Linked DNA regions of Homo sapiens: region 2 is linked to region 1. Evidence: promoter capture Hi-C in human tissues and cell types (Jung and others, 2019). All regions are on one chromosome and are shown on one strand. The core of a region is centred on a gene start or on the middle of the fragment in contact, and the rest is flanking DNA. Distances in the headings are between cores, read along the strand shown. Region 1 holds the start of GSTA5 (glutathione S-transferase alpha 5). Region 2 has its middle 20 kb from the start of GSTA2.

Evidence for each region. The method cuts DNA at HindIII sites, captures the fragments that hold promoters and counts their contacts. A contact is called where the count stands out against the background at its distance.
Region 2: a contact is called between a fragment that was not itself captured here and the fragment with the promoter of GSTA5 in region 1, in 2 of the 25 tissues and cell types used here (liver and thymus).

Annotation. Positions count from the first base shown.
Region 1 is chr6:52,837,492-52,842,774 of GRCh38, forward strand. It overlaps GSTA5 (glutathione S-transferase alpha 5), which reads right to left and starts at 3,322. Exons shown (of 6, transcript NM_153699.3): 1 at 3,236-3,322; 2 at 67-118. The coding sequence starts at 3,322. The HindIII fragment of the contact is 18,057 bases long and covers 1-5,283 here.
Region 2 is chr6:52,741,006-52,746,288 of GRCh38, forward strand. It overlaps the pseudogene GSTA7P. Among named protein-coding and RNA genes, the nearest start is that of GSTA2, 20 kb to the right of the region's middle. The HindIII fragment of the contact is 4,440 bases long and covers 745-5,184 here.

The DNA.
Region 1 (5,283 bases), core at 2,072-4,571:
TGCTCAACGTTCCTCTGTACCTTCTACTAGAAACTCTCATCAGAGTTACTTAGAGATTGATCTTACCATTTCTTAACTTGTCCAAATCTTCTGCAGATTCTAGAAATTTCTCTTCCAACTGGAAGCAGAAACAGTAAATGGGTTCTTCTTAGTTAATTCTATTATAGACTTGTGATGTTGAATGGCCCCTATCTGGTGCATGATTTGGAGAATATAAGATTTCTGAGTTTCGCAGGATATACAGAGGGGGCTGGTAATGGCCATTTGGAAGTTTAGACCTAATTCATTGAGAAAAGTGCATGGGTCACAGCACATAGCTGCTCAATCTTTTAGTTCACTGCCACCCTGTTCTGATGAATGTCTATGATTAGGTCATATTTTGAGAGGGGACATCACTGGAAAGAAGGCACTGAGCAGTTCTCCTAGTTATGGTGTTGTCATATCTTAGTAAAGCCCGTGTCTCCAGGAGAGATCAGACCACAACCTTGTGTGTCCCCAGTGTGGGGTATGCCATGGGCTAATGGCCATCAAATATTCTGCCACCAAGGAGCCTCTGCTATAATTTATATCACCCCACTTTTCAGGAACCCTGCTAAGGGTGAAATAAGTTGCAGCTGTTGCACAGCTTTCACACTTGCAACTATAATTTTCTCTTCTGAAGTACATGGGACCCAATAGGGTAAAATTCTCAATTTAATAAAGGAATTAGAGTCCCACACTAACATTATTTTTCATGAAAACCTCTGGTTTCTGATGTGGTTTTGTGGGTTCAATATCACCATTTTCATGTACTGTCTTCTTGACTTTGGACATGTTACCGAAACTCTCTGTGTCTGAGTATGCTAATCTATGAAATGGGTATACTTACGGCACCTATGGTATAGGCTGATATCAAGATTAAATTACAAGGTCATGCAAAGCACTTAGAAAAGTAGCAGGTGTATAGTAACTGCTCGTTAAATATAAGTTATGTTTAGAATTTTGAAACTATACTTAGTTCTTGATCTACATCCAGTAACTTAAACATTGGAGTAAATTCCACCTCATCCTGAGACAAGTCACTTTGGTGGAAATAGCAGCCAGCAACAAGGCTGTCTCAATCTGACCAGAAGCTATGAGTGGTTGCAGGTATTTAATACAGATATGAAATTCAGTTATTACATAATGATGCAGTTGACTTAAATAGGCAGAATCTATCAAACCAAAAGTCTAAGCAAAAGTTATCAAGGTTTTCTGGATTTCAATGTTGTTATGATCTGGTTCCAATCTTGACTCTGCCTCAAAATAGCTGTGTGATCTAGGAATTATTGCTTAAAATCTTCAAGCCTTAGATTCTTAATCTGCAAAATGGGAATATAATATTTTCTTAAATGGAATTTTGTAATGTTTCAAAATGCATGATACAGGGCCTGACCCACATACATCAAGTAATAAATAGTAGCGGTGTTTCCAGTGGCTAATTATACTTTAATGGAGTTCTTTATGGTGAAAGATCAGGAATTTGGGGGTTTCTGGCTTGCTCCATGGAACAGAATTTGTTGTGGATCTATGATCACACAGGACCAGGATCTAGAGGTCATGGGGGTGTGTGCCAGCAATTAATAAGGCATCCAGTTCAGGACAAACCTAAGGAACGGTGGGTGGTCCAGGAAGGAGGGTAGACAAGGTGGGGTGGGGTTGGCAAGTGGGATGTGAGGACTGGGTTGTGATCATCAGCCTTAGGGCGCTGAGACCCCAGAAGCCTGAGCAAGGTCTGCAGTCAGCCCTGCCCCCGCCTTCAGTCAGGCTGGATGGAGACCTGGGAACCTGGGTTCCTCCCAGCCTTGCCCCTCCCTCCCTCCTGCTGAACTCTTCCTACCCGGGCTCTGAACACATCCCTGAGCTGCAGAGCTGATGTCTGCGTGACAGTGAAACAGGGTATTCATTTGTACAAAGGAAACAACCTAGAATGATAGTGTTTGGATTTCTTATGTGCTTATTTCTTCATAGAACTGAGAAAGGGTGAGGCTAAAGTCCCAAGCCTTCGTGAAGCAACGCACAAAGTACCGTTCCGAGGCTCAGGTCCACACGGCGCTGTGAGGCTGAAGGGGCGCGCTAGAAGTTCCCTTCACAGGACGCCACCTCACCTGAAACCCCCCTTTTCTGCTGCCACCCGAGGGACAAGATCTCCTGAGTTTGTCCATGACTCACTTCCCAGGAAAACCCTCAGGCAGTCGCTGAAGGACTCTGGTCTGGACTGGGAAGTGTTTTTCTCAGTGACACCTCTAGAGGGCAGCACTCAGCGGAGTCCCACAGACACCTCCAGGCATTTCCTACTCAAACACTGGGAGGATGACCTGGTAACACTGGGGAATGCTTGGGTGTTCTAGAAGCCTCCACGCCTCATTTTAACCACGTGTTTACTTGTCTGCATCCTCATAGACATGTAGGCCGCCCCAGGGCAGGGACTGTGTCTGTCTTGTTCACTGTCTATCTCCATGACCTAGTACAGAACCTGGAATTAATAAGTGCTCAACAAATAATTGCTGTGAATGTAGTCAATCTTTAATAGGTAGTTTGTTACAATCCACTCCCTTACACCTCTCATTTATAGTTTGCATTTTACCTCTAACTACAGCCATTTTTAAATATTACGTATTTTCATTTTTTTGTTGTGGAAATTATGAACATGAATAAAAATAAACAGAAAAGCATAAAAATTCTCCTTATATTTCTCACCTAGAATCAATAATTATCAACCAAAACCAATGTGAAGTTATATTTATGCCCACCTACTTCTCCTTTTGTAATAATTCCAAAGAAATCCCAGATCCATATGATTAATCCTTAAATACTTCAATGTGTTTTCCTAAAACACATAAACTGTTCTAAAGATAACCATAGTACATTATCACACATGAAATATTAACAATAATTATTTCATGTCATCAAATATTCAGTCAATATCCAAGTTTCTAATGCCATAAATTATTTTTTACAGTTTGTTTAAATTCTAATCCACTTAAGTTCTACACTTTTTGATTAGTTTCTTAATTGTATTTTAATATGTATGCTCTTAGATAAGAAGAAATTTTAACAATTTTTAGGTCAAATCTATTCATCTTTTTCTTAATTACAGTCCATTTTTATTTAAGGCACAATGCTTCAGTAAGTAATCATTGCATAGTTTCTGTGGGAAAAGTATGTGATAACGCAATTTTAAATCCAACTTAAGATGACCTTACTCAGAACCTACCTCTACTCCAGCTGCAGCCAGGAGCCACCGAATGGACTCCATACTGCCCCGTGCATTGGAGTAGTGGAGCTTGGGCTTCTCTGCCATGATAGCAGTCTCCTGGAGGTTTCTCTAAGCCTGAATGAATGAATGAATAATTGAAACGATAGAATCAAAAATGTACTTTAGGATGTGTGGTTGAAAACCACAAACAATGCTGAAGAAGAACCTGCCTTCTTCATGACTGGGTTGAAGGAGTTCCTGGAATGTTTTCTTGGCTCAAATTGTTACCCAGCAGTGGCCACCCTCAAACCAGTCTCAAGTCTTCATTGTTTACCTGTGACTTTTCTTGGCAGCCTAAGAGGTGAGAGTATGTGGTAATAATACATGTACAGGAGTTAATGGAAGGGGAAGAATTCAAGAACTAATATTTATTGAAAACTTCCTCATGATCCTTCCTCAATGCTAGTCCCTTTCAATATTTTATATCTTTAACCCTCCTTATAGTCTCATTAAATGGTTGTTTTCTCCAATTTTTAGTTAATGAAATCGAACATCAGAGAAATACAATGTTCACAGTCACACTCTGGTTGGTGATGGACATGAATATCTACACCAAGGACTAAAATGAAGTCACGCCTGGAAGACATCTGGGTGAAGGCCCTGGGAACCCATGAACTGGTTGTGAAACCAGAGGATGTCACTGACAGGGAGGACCGGCAGGGAGCTAAGTCACTCTTCAGCTCTCTGGCTGTGAGACTGCATTTGATCAAAACCAGAAATTAGGCTTCAGACTTGTTTTACTGTAGCTAGAAGATCCAAAGTCTTTCAACAGAGAATGCTAATACCTTGCTTCTTTTGGTGTTCTATATTTTAACTCTGTGGGGGGCATTTTGTTTTATAACCTGGCAAAAGAGATGTTGCTGCATTAACTTTGCAGGATATGGAAGGAGCTAGCATTTGTTCAACGTCAGTCATACACTGGCCATTCTTCTAAACTTCTCTCATTTTGTCCTACAAAAATCACCTAAGGTGAAAGGCTGTTGCTATTCTCATTTTACAGTTGAGGATACTGAGGTTTTTAAAGTAACTTACCCAGATTAAGTGGTGGATCTGGGATGCAGACTCACTGCTATTAAAAACTAAAGACTGAGTCTTATTTTCTATGTTAATGTTTCTCAAATATGCATGGTAATCTTTCAGTAGATTGTGAAACCCCAGTACTTTTTAAAATAAAATAGAAAAGAATAAAAATATCAGTGAGCATGACATGTTGAAGGGTAAGTAATGTTTCATGAGTTGTTAGTTTCAGTTATTTGTATATTGTGTGTATGGATGTTTGCATGTGTGCACGCTCACCTGCTTGTTGTAAATGGTTAGAGAGAAATTGACTGGGCTCATCAGTGAAGTTTGATAGCCCTTGCTCTATCCCAGGCTGTTTGGGAGGTGGAACATAGCAGAGTATCAGAGAATGAAAACCAATGGCTGCAAGGACAGATGCAACTAATTGTATCATGAATGTGAATGGAAGGACACAGGACTCATTGAAAGCAGGAGTTCCAGTGCCAGGACTTAGGAACAGTTGCATATTCTCTCCAAACCCCCAGCTCTGTGATTAAACATTAAGATTCTTCTTGCAAAGTTTTGTGGTTGTTGAGTTTAGAAGAAAAATATACTTGCCTTTAACAACTAATGTATTTCTTTTTTTTTTTTTTTTGAGATGGAGTTTTACTGTTTTTTTCCCAGGCTAGAGTGCTATGGTGCAATCTCAGCTCATGCAACTTTAGCCTCCCAGTTTCAAGTGATTCTCCTGCCTCAGCCTCCCAAGTAGCTTGGATTACCAGCACATGCCACCACACCTGGCTAATTTTGTATTTTTTGTAGAGACAGGGCTTCAGCATGTTGGCCAGGCTGGTCTCAAACACCTGACCTCAGGAGATCCACTTGCCTCAGCCTTCCAAAGTGCTGGAATTACAGGCGTGAGCCACTGCACCCGCCGTCAACTAATGTACTTCTACAAAAGTATGTATGACTTAAATTTAGACATCAAAATCTTTTTTTTATACTTT
Region 2 (5,283 bases), core at 1,715-4,214, 97 kb before region 1:
AAACAATGGGCAGTTGGTCTCATGTCTTCCTACGCATGGTGCCAGAATATTTTCTGATGTATTCCATTCATCATGTTCCTTTTAAATCAAATCCAGTGTTGTTCTAAAGACTGTAGACCAAATTCTACTGTGGCTCAGAGCCTCTCACAGCCCATGTTCTAATTATGAACATGAAATTTTGTTAAATAAATAATTTATATTGGAGTCTAGTGAATTGTAATTTTGTGATAACAGCCTGGACAACATTGAGAGACCTCATCTCTTAAAAAATTCTAAAAATTAAACAGGCACAGTGGGTCATGCCTGTAATCTTAGCTACTCAGAAGGTGGCTAAGGTGGGAGGATCACATAAGCCCAGGAGGTCCAGGCTGCAGTGATCCACTGCACTGAAGCCTGGGAGACAGAAGAAGATATCATCTCCTAAAAAATAAAGAAAAATAAAACAAAACTTTGCTGGAAAATTATAGCTTGAGTGTAAGCGGTACAATTGTTTGTCAGTGCCCCAGGAATGCCAAGCCACTGTTTTTCTATTGTCCTCAAAATGCAGTGTTCCAAAACGCTGAATGACTTCACTTACTTTCTCAAAGGTAGGGAAATAGCAATTTTTCATTCTCTCTTCGATCAAGGCAAGTTTGACATCTTTTTCCTCAGGTTGACATATGGGCAGAAGAAGGATCATTTCATTCAAATCTGCCATACCTTCTATATACATATCAATCCTGAAAGACAAAAACAACCAAACTTTCTAATGCCTTTTGCCTTAGATTTTATAGTTTAAAAATCTAAGAGGATAGAGCATCAGGTGGTGGCAAAGCAATTTACCTCCAATGATTGCCTTTCATAGTCTAGTCATTATGCTCTGATTTTTACAGGTATATTAACATTTATTTTTTTAAAACAACCTATTGAGGTAGATAGATCTCTAAATTTTGTTACACACATGACCTAATACAGGTAAAAAGAGCATCGGTGGTCACAGTCATGACAGAAACTTGTGGAATCACTGCCAGTACCCACTGGTGCTGTGCCAGGACTGACCATCTCTATTGTGGTTTGTTCTGTGTGTGAACTTAGTGTGAGTCAAATTGCCAAAGTCCTGCCTCCTAAGTAATCCCAAGAGAGTCCCTGGCACAGCCATCTCAGTCATGTTCCTTGTTCTGTCTCATCATTTTACATCTCCCAGGCCCACTTCTATGCCCAATATTAGCAGTTTTTCCAGTTACTCCCATGAAACATAATTCTACAGCCCTCTCCATGTGCTGTTGTCCGACTCTAGCCACGTGTGCCTTACCTGAGACTCCACCTAAAAGATCCCCTTCCTTGGTGAAATTATTTATACAGTTACAACCAGTGCAAACTTTTTCTTTTGTGTCAAACTCAGGTTTCACAATACTTTTTAAAACAACAGCTTATTGACATACAGCCACATTCAGTGCTTTTTAGCACATTCACAGAACTCTGCAAAAATCATCACATTCTAATTCCAGAATATTTTTTATGACCCCGATAAGGACATCTGTACCATCAGCAGTATTCTTCATTTTACTCCAAGCCCCACTCCTTTAGCCCCAGGCAACACTAATCTACTTTCTGCCTCTATGGATTTGCATATTCTGGACGTTTCATACAAAAAGAATCCTATAATATGTGGCTTTCTGTGTCTTGTTTCTTTTATGTAACATGTCTTTATGGTTTAACCATCTTGTAGCATGCATCAGTACTTCATTCTGTTTCATGACAATATCGTTCCATCACATGGCTAAAGCACATTTTGCCCCTCCATTTATTGATTGATGGATATTTGCCTTGTTTCCACTTTTTGAATACTATGAATATTGTTATTTGCATTGTACATTTATCTTCAATATTTAGTGTGGTTGTATTTTTTATTCTTTTGGGAATATATCTAGTTGAGGAATTGCTTGGTCATTGGTAATACTGCAGGAAAATTTTGGAGGGGCTGCCAAAAGTTCCATTCAGGATTTATTTGGAATCATGTAGTTTTATCACAATAGTGAGGAAACCCTTTGGCTTTGCTGGTATTGAATCAATCTGGCTGTTTCAGCCTTGTAACCATGTGTCAAGATAACCCCAGCATCCTTGGTGCCAGCCTCTGCTAGCCCTGCTCAGGTGTTGCAGTCCATATAATTGGCTGGTAACTTAGGTCCCTGGTCATCATTCTTGGATTTACTGGAACCTGAGATTCAGCTCCTTTGTAACCTTTTCTCCCCAGGCCTTCACCTACAGACTCTCAAACGTTCTATGCCTTGTCCTAAGCTGTTGGCTCCAGTCCAGCCTCTGAAGGCCTGAGCACCTGGAATCATGATTCCCCATCCTCCTGAGTTCATGGTTCATCCGTGTTTGGAAACCTCTGTCAGGGTGCTGGATCCATGGACTGGATCCTCTTCTAGACTCCCCCTCGCCTGAGCCCACCCCATGTTCACTGTTCCCTCATCTCCATGAGTCTCTGCAATGCTAGACCCTAGCGTACATGCTGAAGGCCCCTACCATGTCCCACCCACTCAAGGAAGGACCTAAATCACTCCTGTGTTAAATCTGTTGATGGAAGAATAGAAACTATACCATACAGGGCTCTCTCCTTTGTGTCTTTCCCATAAAGGTTGTATTTGCTGGCAATGTAGTTGAGAATGGCTCTGGTCTGCACAGCTTCATCCTGTCAATCTCAACCATTGACACTAGCTGGAACATCAAACTCCCATCTTTACAAAGAAGGAAAAAAAAGGAGAGTGAAATGACTATGAATCCCACTCTTTCAGGATGAAAAAAATGGTTGTGAAAATGACTAAATTTGTACATGAAAAAGAAATTATTGCCTGGTAAGATTTCACCTGAAAGTGCGTTTTTAAAAAGCTTCCTGTAGTCCTTCTTTTTGTTAATCAGCTTCCTTTTACTTTTTATCATGTTGTTTCATTTTTGTTATTTATTTCTCCTCCAGATACATAGTAGAACTCTTGTCTTTTTTTGTGTTCATTTATGTTCATGGATACTTCAGGAAGATGTTGGGATAGGTTACAACAGGACTGCCAACACAATGCCATTTAGAATGAGAAGTTCCCAGAATAAGCCTCATATTTGTGACATTTAAGGCAGGTTCTGAGAGGTTTTTATGTAAGGGTCCCTTTCTGTGCTCTTCAAAGCCTGCAATACTGCTACAATATTACCTTTTCACACCCCCCATGAAAGAACAAAGACTCAAGACAATGGTCACATCTATTTCTCCTCCTTTCATCTAATCTATGTCCTTGAGTATCCTTGGATGGGGAGGCCTGTATGGGATCCTGAGCTGATCAACACAGCTCATTCATGGTGCCCAAAGCATGAAAATAAGGATAGGGCATTCTCAGGGCGCTGGGGATGGTTCCTCTAGCAAATACTCTGAGAAGTCTAGTTCTTTTAGCCTGGAGAGAGTTGCCAGACCTGATCAAGGAGCCACATCCCTTCCATTTTAACCACTTTCTCCCTCTCCACCTTGCCCAAATACCACCCCACACACACATGGGCATTGCCTGCTGTTCAAAATTCCTTGTGTGCCTTCTATTAGATACCCACATCAGAGGTACTTAGAGACTTCATCTTACCATTTCTTAACTTGTCCAATTCTTCTGCAGATTCTAGAAATTTCTGGTCAAACTGGAGACAGAAACAGTAAATGAGTTTTCGTTAGTTCATTCCATAGCATTATAAACTTCTGACTTTGAATAGCCCCTATCTGGTGCATCATTTGGAGAATATAAGATTTCTGAGTTTGGCAGTGCACACAGAGGGGCTGGTTGTGGCCATTTGTAAATTTAGACTAGATTCATTGGGGGAATGGCATGGGTCACAGCACATAGCTTCTCCGTCTTCCAGTTCACTGCATCTCCACCCCGATCTCATGACTATCTATGATTAAGTCATGTTTTGAGAGGGGATGTCAATGGAGAGATGGCACTGAGCAGTTCTTCTACTTATGGTGTTGTCATATCTTAGGAAAGCCTGTGTCTCCAAGTGAGATCAGACCACAACCTTGTGTGTCCCTAGCATGGGGTATGCCATGGGCTAATGGCCATCAAAGATTCTGCCACCAAGAGGCCTCTTCTGTAATTTACCTCACCCCACTTTTTAGGAATCTTGCTAAGTGTGAAATAGGTCATAGCTATTGCAAAGCTTTAACTCTTGCAACTATAATTTCCTTTTTCTGGAGTAAATGAGACACCATAGGGTAGAATCTCAATTTAAGAAAGGAATTAGAGTCCCCACACTAACATTATTTTTAACCAAAATCTCTGGTTTCTGAACCGGTTTTGTGGGTTCAATATCACCATTTTCATATATTGGCTTCTTGACTTTGGACACATTACTGAATCTCTCTGTGTCTGAGTATTCTAATCTATGAAATGGATATACTTGTGGTACCTATGGTACAGATTGGTAGGTTGGTATGAAGACTAAATTGCAAAGTCATACAAAGCACTTAGAAAAGTAGCAGGTCTCTAGTAAGTGCTCATTAAATATAACTAATTATTAGAAGTTTGAGAGATAGCTGCTATTTCAGCATGTCATCCTTTAAAAAAATCTAAATCAATCTAATATTGATGAAACTATTCTTTGTTATTGATCTACATCCAGTAACTTAAACCTTGGAGTAAATTACACCTTGTCCTGAGACAAGAGACATTGGTTGGAATGGCAGCCAGCAACAAGGCTGTCTCAATTTGATCAGAAGCTCAGAGTGGATGCAGGTATTTAATATAAATAGGAAAATCAGTTGTGACACAACTTTTCACAAAGGTCATCAAAACCTTTTACAAAAAATACTCCTGAAAAGGCATCTGTCCAGCAACTCCCTGTTCAAACTTGGCCTGGTGTCACCCTTGTTATTGATGTTTGCAGTGAATGATAAGTATTTCAAAACATTTACTTAATCCTTCTTATTCTTTTGCTTTAAAAATCTTTTTCTTCCTTTATCTCCCTAAGGACATACATGGTTTACTATGGTACACACGTACCCATTACAAAACTTTGTTCCCATATAAAGAGTCTCTTTCTGTTTATTAAGTTGACACAATATATCCAAAAGCAGCTGAATGCACAACTCAAACTGTCATCCAAGCACACAAAGAAGGCATTGATGTGAGTATTAAGCAGTTTTTTTTTATTGTACTAAGGACACATTTAAAAATATTTTTCTGGTGACCTAGATGAGATGGTGTGAGGCAGTGTAGAAAGATTTATAAGATCAGTACTTACTTTGTTAAAGGTTATCGCCCTCGTGGCTCAACA